Regions from separate parts of the Homo sapiens genome. Here region 2 is linked to region 1. Evidence: promoter capture Hi-C in human tissues and cell types (Jung and others, 2019). All regions are on one chromosome and are shown on one strand. The core of a region is centred on a gene start or on the middle of the fragment in contact, and the rest is flanking DNA. Distances in the headings are between cores, read along the strand shown. Region 1 holds the start of NKX6-1 (NK6 homeobox 1). Region 2 overlaps LINC02994 (long intergenic non-protein coding RNA 2994).

Region 1 (4,159 bases), core at 842-3,341:
TTGAGAATGCAGTGTCCTGGAGGATGTGAGGAGGTCGCTGGAGGGCCAGGCGCAGAGTGGAGACTGAAGGTTGGGTACCACCGCCAGGGTGGAGTGTCCGAAGGCGAGAAACGTTTCGTTTGTAACGAAGCCAGAGACATAGGCCCCCCAGTTTCAAGGCTAGGACGGGCTATGCCTGCCACCATCCTCCCGCAGCTTCCTGGCCGAGGTGGCAGGGCGCTGGGGTTTAGACCCAAGCACTGGATCCCCGCGTGGAAATGCAGAAGGTCCGCACATCAGCTCTCTTCTGAAGCAAGTCTTGGCTTGACTCCTTAGCACTATTCATGCTGACGAAGGACTTCACCTTACCCCAGGTCAGATTCTAAAGTCCATGAAATAATAGATTTAAACCAGTCTTGAAGTTAATGAAGAAAGATAAAGGAAGAGGAGGACCAAATAACATTGCTTCTATCTTAGAAGGAAATAAAACTGGCAAATATAACCCTTCCTTCCCCCAGTTTCAGACTCAAACTCAAGCTGACCCTTAAAAACTAGTGCTTAGTAAACGAAGGTTATCGAAGCGGAGTACGCCCTCCTGGCTTTTCGTGCTTGGACCCAAATGAGCGCTTTGACACCAATAGCTAAACTCCATCCGTCGGTGGTGCTGATCAAATTTTATTCTTGAGCCATTTATTGCGTTTATTTCTGTTTTCTGCTCATTAAAATTGTAATTAATGATCTCATCCAAATTTGCTGTAGCGACCACCTTCCAATGGTGTGTTACTTTAACATGCTGAATTCTCAAAATTGTCAAAGGGTTTTCCTTCTCCAGCCCGCAGTTCAACCCTGTCGGGAACGTAAAGATCAGCCAGAGATGGAAGAGATTTAGAGAGTAAAGGAAGCCACCCTTCAACTCCTAAACTCTAGATAGACATCCCACCACCACTGTCCAGGAGCTGGTACATCTCCATCTCCCGTAGCAACTCTAGAATTGGGAGTAGGCGCCAGAGTTTTGGAGAGGGTTTTCAAAAGCTTACAGTTCCCAGGGTGTACCTAGATGCTTCTGTATCTAAAGTTTCCGCCTGAATTTTGATGATTCTACCCCCATGTAAACCCAAAGGAAATAACAACAATAATCAAAGGGAGAAAAGTTAAGGGAAAAAACTCCCTCACTGTTCTCAGGTATAAACATCATCTGACAGATAAATATTCCTATTAAACGGATTCAGTTTTCAGCGAATTGAGTAACCCATAAATGATAATGAACGCGGTGGGAAGCGACGGGCGGGGGGGAACTCGGGAATGAAAAAAAAAATAAAGTGGAGGAGAAAGAACAGAAAAGGAAAGCAGGAGGTGGAAAGATGGAAGAGGACGATCCTTTGGCCTACAAGGGGATTAAGGACATCTATAAGGCTTAAGGAGCAACAAATTAATTTACACAATTCTGGGAGAGCCCAGATGGCCTTTAATTAATCCCTTCAAAAGAAGGAGCCAGGCCAGGGCTGCGCCGGCTGCCTGCTCCATTAGCTCCATTTTACAAGGGACCAGACTTGGTTCGAGGTGAGGCGCCCTCCAGAGCTGGTGGGGGAAGGGGATAGGATGACGCGAGCGGGCTAGTGGGGAAGCAAGGGAAGAATATGAACTGCTTTTCCATAAAAGGGCTGAGTTTTCATTATTCCTCTCTTTAAAAAGTAATACCCTCTTCGTCTCTGCTTCCCCCTCCCCTTTCTCATTTTATTTAGCACAATTAATTGAGGCGGCCACTGGCCCCAGCGCGGAACCGCACCACTCACCAGCTCCCGCCCCTCCTGGCCCCGCCCACAGGAGAAAGAAGTAGGGAGCGGGAGGGGACTAGGCGGGCGCGGCCCTACGCCTGGCCCGCCTCAGCCAATCAGAGGGTGCGGCGCCCCCGAGTGGGCGAGCCCCAGGGGCGACGCAAGGATCGAGGCGGCGAGCTATTGGACACGGTGGTTACGCCCCCGGCCTGCGCCCGGCTCGCCGGCCCCCGCAGCCTCGGAGTGACGTCCCTCAAAGTTCTCATTTTGGTCCCCCACTTCCCCCTCCCTTTCGTCCCCCAGCTAAAGAGGGGTAGGGAGTGATGCAAATGTTTTATTACCTTTGAGAGCTTCATCTGAACTGTCAGGCCCGGAGGGAGAGAGGAAAGGAGAGAAAGAGCGGAGGAGCCGCGGAGAGGGTCAGTTTGGCCAGAGGACAGGACTTAGAAGACCGAAGCCTGGGAAGCCGCGAAGAAAATGCCAGAGAGGAGAGTCAAAGGCTGAGAGTGAGAGGGAGAGAGGGAGCGGGGGTGGGGCGGGGGTCGCCGGGCCCGTTTGCAGAAGTGGACTGACGAGCGGCGCCGAAACCCAGCCGTCAGACTTTTCACACTTAGTCTTTTGTTTTTCTGTGTTTTTCCTCCCCCTTTTTCTTTTCAATATTGCAACTCCAGTGCCCCGTGGGCCAGAGGGCAAGGCGGGTGGAGGTGAGGACCTGGGAGCCGCGGGGATCCGTGGCACTGCCCTTTCTGGCGCAGCAGCCCGGGGCAGCGTGGGCGGAGGAAGCCCGCACAGAGGCTAGATCTCCCGCGGGCTGGATGCGCTTTCTCCCCGGGCACAGTGAGCGTCGAATGCGAATCAGCCGCGCGACCGAAAGAGCAGAGCATCCCAGTAAGATCAGAGGAGCGCCACGGGCTGCACAAGGCGTCCTTTGAACCTCCCCAAAGAAAGCAAGCCACCCCCACCCTCCAACTTCAAAGTGGAGATTCGGCAACTAACTTTGCTACAAACTCTCCGGAGCCAGCCTGGGTTTTGTTTTGCTTATTTCCCGGGGGCAGAAGATGAGAAGTAGCGCACTTTGAACAGCTAGGAAAAGTGAGGAAGAGAGAATAGCCAGGGATCGAATCTAGGACTCGCGGAACGAAAGGACTGCCTAGCCCGCCGGGACGCCTGCTTTTCTCGGCGAGCTGCCGCCTCCCGCGTGGAGGGTTTGGACATCTCTGCTGCGCAGCTAGGCGAGCAACTCCCGGCAGCGGCATTTTTGGTTCAGTTGGCAGCTCGCCTCCGGGCGCGCCGAGTGCCTCTCCGCTCGCGCCCTCGGCGCTTCCGGCTCCTCTGAGCCCCGCGGGGGGCACCAGCCAGCGCCCTCGCTGCAAGGCTACGGTCTCCGGCGTGGCCGTGGGATGTTAGCGGTGGGGGCAATGGAGGGCACCCGGCAGAGCGCATTCCTGCTCAGCAGCCCTCCCCTGGCCGCCCTGCACAGCATGGCCGAGATGAAGACCCCGCTGTACCCTGCCGCGTATCCCCCGCTGCCTGCCGGCCCCCCCTCCTCCTCGTCCTCGTCGTCGTCCTCCTCGTCGCCCTCCCCGCCTCTGGGCACCCACAACCCAGGCGGCCTGAAGCCCCCGGCCACGGGGGGGCTCTCATCCCTCGGCAGCCCCCCGCAGCAGCTCTCGGCCGCCACCCCACACGGCATCAACGATATCCTGAGCCGGCCCTCCATGCCCGTGGCCTCGGGGGCCGCCCTGCCCTCCGCCTCGCCCTCCGGTTCCTCCTCCTCCTCTTCCTCGTCCGCCTCTGCCTCCTCCGCCTCTGCCGCCGCCGCGGCTGCTGCCGCGGCCGCAGCCGCCGCCTCATCCCCGGCGGGGCTGCTGGCCGGACTGCCACGCTTTAGCAGCCTGAGCCCGCCGCCGCCGCCGCCCGGGCTCTACTTCAGCCCCAGCGCCGCGGCCGTGGCCGCCGTGGGCCGGTACCCCAAGCCGCTGGCTGAGCTGCCTGGCCGGACGCCCATCTTCTGGCCCGGAGTGATGCAGAGCCCGCCCTGGAGGGACGCACGCCTGGCCTGTACCCCTCGTGAGTACTACCACCCGCGCCCCGATGCCTGCCTGCCGTGCCTGTTCTGCCCACTCCCGGGTCGCGGCCCCTGGTGTGCATGCCGCTCAGTCCATCCTGTGGCCCGCCCCAGTAGTTTGACAGCGCCGGAATCACACCAGTTAGGTTGGGCCAGGGCTTCCAGAAAGGGATTCTCGCTTTTCTGAGCTCGCGTGGCTGTATCCAAGCGCCTCCCTCTCTCTAAGTCTTGAGTACGCCTGGGCTGAGCCGGTGTGTGTGTGTTCGTGTGGACCACAACGCGGTGAGGGACGTGTGTCTCGTCCGAGGCCCTGGCTGTTCCTGAAACGGCCTGGCCA
Region 2 (4,159 bases), core at 1,083-3,582, 260 kb after region 1:
TGACAGCATTGAAATTCTTTTTAATGGGGGTATGACCTAAAACGAACCTTTGATACCTGATCATGATGATGGGCTGTTTATTTATTTCTTCTCCTTCGTTTCCAGCTGGGGAGATGATTAATGTACCTACCTTTCTTGTGATGGCCTCTGTGTATAAGTTGCTGTCCTTGAAGGACATTCAATGTTTTAAAGTGCTGATCAGTCTAATTTCTTCCTTCTAGGCTGTCTAGAAAAGGACACCAACAATCACCCATGAAGATTGCCCTTCAACCTTTGGGAGGAAATGATCGAAATGGGAGCTAGAGAAGATTGTTGTTGGAATCTCAGGTGAGGCATTTTCTATCCGATACAGGAAACTTATATACTTGTAGAGGACAGTTGAAGCCATGTTCAGGTAAAATGGTGCCATATAATGACAGCTGCCTGATGTGTGGAGGGCTTTTTTTTTTAACAATGACAACAAGTTAAGCCAAATGGCAACTGATTTTTTGTATTATTTTTATTCATGATTAATCGTGATAAAACATACATAATATAAAATTTACCATTTTAACCATTCCTAAGTGTACACTCAGTAGTAATATTCACATTGTTGTGCAAACAATCTCAATGATTTTTTTTTTATCTTGCAAAACTGAAACTCCATACCCAAGAAGCACCATCTCTCCATTTTTTCTTCCTCTCAGCCCCTGGCAACCACCATTCTACTTTCTACTTCTATAAATTTGTCTATTTCAGATACCTCATACATTGTATAATACTTTTTTTGTCTTTTTGTGACTGGCGTATTTCACTTAGCATAATGTCTTCATAAGGGCTTCAAGGTTCATCCATGCTGTAGGATGTATCAGCATATCCTTCCTTTTTAAAGGTTAAATAATATTCCATTGTTGACCACATTTTATTTATCCCTTGTCCATTGATGAACAGTTGGGCTACTTCCACCTTTTGGCTACTGTGAATAATGCTCCTATGAACATGGGTGTATTCAAATATCTGATTAAATCTTTGCTTTCCATTATTTTGACGTTTAAACTCAGTTTCACTACCACTACTCCGAAGTGGAATTGCTAGATCATATATAATCCCATACATAAGTTTCTAACTCCATCACTGGGCGGTAAATGTCGGAAACTCAGAAGTGCAGGCTTTGGTGCAGGAATGTGAGTAGTTAGAGGCCGTTACACAATACTTTAGGCCAGCGATCCAGAGCCACCCCATTGAAGATGAAGATGCATCCTTTGTTTGGCAGAAGTTACAGTAGTGATAACAGCAAGGGATAGGAAAGCTGAAGGATCTGGAACACATTAGTCATCTGGTCATAGGAAGCAAGATTGATAGTGGGTGAGCACAGAAATGTCTCACATTATGGGAATAGAAAGGAAAGAACTATAGTTTTCAAACTTCAATCAACTTAGAAAAATTTGTGTCATCTTTTGATTCCTGGGCTTCATTCTCAAGAGATTCCCATTCAGTAAGCCCTTTTGAGGCTCAAAAATCTGCATTTTAATAAACATCAGAGAAAAATAATTGGGGAAAAATAATTCCTAACAACTGTCAGGTGATGAAAACTAACTCTTGATTACCCATGTTAACATGAAGAAAAGTACAATATCCTGAATCAATGACTCTCAAGCGCTGGGCTATAAACCAATTCTGTGCTGGCTACTTCATCACTTGGATAACTTGCTGCATTAAGAAATACCTGGGCCCCAGTGCCTGATTCTCAGTGTGTGTTATATTTTTCTCTATCTTCACAGGTTGGCAATTTCATAGAAGGCCCACTTTTCCCAGTTTTAAGGTAGTGATTAAATCCAAAATACAACTGAGTGCTTTAGAGGAAGGAACACACGTGGGACTCCCATAGTTAAACTAAATGTCATACAGACTTCTCTAATGCTTTGATTTTTAGAAACTTGACTCATGCTATCACACAGTCTGTACAAGTCTGGCCCCTTCCTCAGGATTAGTGCAAATCCTGTGGTATAGCTCCGCCCAGAGACAGAGGCACCGGGAGGAGCAACTATAGACTTCATCCCCTCCTAACTTTTCAATTTTCAAACCCACTCATGAATTCTTTGAGGTTAATAACTTTACTGAAGATCCCTGGAGTGAAGACAGGCACCATATTACTACATGGCAGTAATCTCCCACTTGTTAATTGCCCCACACCATCTTCTGTTGTATTTTCTAAAATCCAAGCTCCTAATCTGTGCTGTACTTGTTCATTCAGCTCTCTAGAAATTGCAGTAGAATCTGCCATTCTCCATGGGATTGTTGCCATCAGCAAAAATTTTCTATTTACTACCAACAAGTCTCCGGAGGGGGGAATATATTGTGTTAAGATGGTTGTTTAAGATGTTATTTTCCCAGGATTCAGGATCCTGAGTCTACACGATAGAATAACTACCAAACCATATCAAGATCCTAAGGATGGTATGGGGAGGTCATGCCCTCTTCAAACTTCTGCAGTTCGACTCAAACTTTCTCTCTTTAACTTCAACCTAAGAAGGTCTCCTAATGATCCAGATCATAACACATGGAATCCATAACTCTATTAGCTTGCAATAGGCAGCCCTGAAGCCAGGATCAAGATTGCAGAGTAGCCTTCCTGATTTGCTTTCCCTTATCCCCATACTCAAATCTTAGTTCTCTGTGTTTTTAACATTCAGATTATAGGATTACACTAAGAAAAGAAGACAGTGTTTGCCCCAACAGTGATTTATTTAAATTATTTTGATGATACTAAGTATCCCAATTAATATGTTTGGACTTGACCCACTCATATCATCACTTGATCTCCTGAGGTAAGGGGATTGGCTGGTGGAAGGAAGGTAGACTGGAAAGGAGTCCCTCTAGAGCTGTTAATCTGTCCCATCAAATCACCATAAATCAGTTCCTAATTTTCAATAGAAACAGAAACAGCATTATTTTAACTGGAACCTGACTTTCATACTTCCCTGTAAACCACTATCTTGAGCACTGTGGGAATTTGTGGAGAATAACAATTTATAATTGAGGGCTGGGCACAGCGGCTCACACCTGTAATCCCAACACTCTGGGAGGCCAAGGCGGCAGGAATAGTTGAGTCCAGGAGTTCAAGACCAGCCTGGGCAACATGGCAAAACCCTGTTTCTACAAAAAATACAAAAATTAGCTGGGTGTGGTGGTATACTCCTGTAGTCCCAGCTACTTGGGAGGCTGAGATGGGAGGATCATCTGAGCCCAGGAGGTTGGGGCTGCAGTGAGCCTTGAGCATACCACCTTACTCCAGTTTTGGAAACAGAGTGAGACCCAGTCTCTAAGAAAAAAAAAGAATTTATAATTGAGATTTGAATTTTATTTTTATTTAGTTGGGCTAGTGCCAGCATTGGTCACTTTAAGCCATTCAGTCAACACATTTTATTAAGCAACTGCTGTGCTTAGTAAAATACTAATTTTATTGAATAACTACTATGTACTCACTGAGCTAAGTACTGGATATATAATGGTGAACAAGACAGAAATAGTATAATACCTGCCAGTCTAGTATGAAGGTCTCTAAGTAAACAAATAAACAAATACTTAGAAATTGTGAGTAAGCATCAAAAAGAAAACAATAAAAAGGAGGTGAGATAGAGAATAAAATGAATTATATACTTTATAGATAGGGTCATGGGGCCTTTCTAAGAAGGTAACATTGAAGCTGAGACCTAAAGGATGGGAAGGAACTTGCCATGTGATGAGACGTGAAGTGGCTAAGCTGGTTTCCTAGGCAAAGGCCTTGAGGCCAAGGAGCCTGAGGCAAAAGGAACTGGCTGAAGCTCAATGGGAGGGAGTGGCAAGAGCCCAGGAGGTAGAGGTTGCAGTGAGCCAAGATCGTGCCACTAAACTCCAGCCTGGTTGACAGAGCAGGACTCTGTCTCAAAAAAAAAAAGAAAAAACGAAAAAAGTGAGAGAGAGAGATAAGGGTGGCTGTATCATCAGACTTCCCAGCACACAGGACATTGCAAGGCCATGGGGAGGAGTTCTGAGCCATGGAGAGGGTGGGCGGGAAAGGCATAGGACTGGAAGTAGGAAGGTAGGTGAGAAGCTTACTAACTGCCCTGCACAATCTGTCCTGTACAAATTTTAATGCTGATTTTTCCATGACTGATGGCAGTTTATTCTTTCTAGATGT

What was found. Contacts are between HindIII fragments. The study calls those that stand out against the background at their distance.
Region 2: a fragment that was not itself captured here is called in contact with the fragment with the promoter of NKX6-1 in region 1 in 1 of the 25 tissues and cell types used here (dorsolateral prefrontal cortex).

Annotation. Positions count from the first base shown.
Region 1 is chr4:84,497,224-84,501,382 of GRCh38, reverse strand. It overlaps NKX6-1 (NK6 homeobox 1), which reads left to right and starts at 2,091. Exons shown (of 3, transcript NM_006168.3): 1 at 2,091-3,824. The coding sequence starts at 3,155. The HindIII fragment of the contact is 8,742 bases long and covers 1-4,159 here.
Region 2 is chr4:84,239,279-84,243,437 of GRCh38, reverse strand. LINC02994 (long intergenic non-protein coding RNA 2994) reads left to right here. Exons shown (of 9, transcript NR_125909.1): 5 at 222-327. Among named protein-coding and RNA genes, the nearest start is that of LINC02994, 58 kb to the left of the region's middle. The HindIII fragment of the contact is 9,303 bases long and covers 1-4,159 here.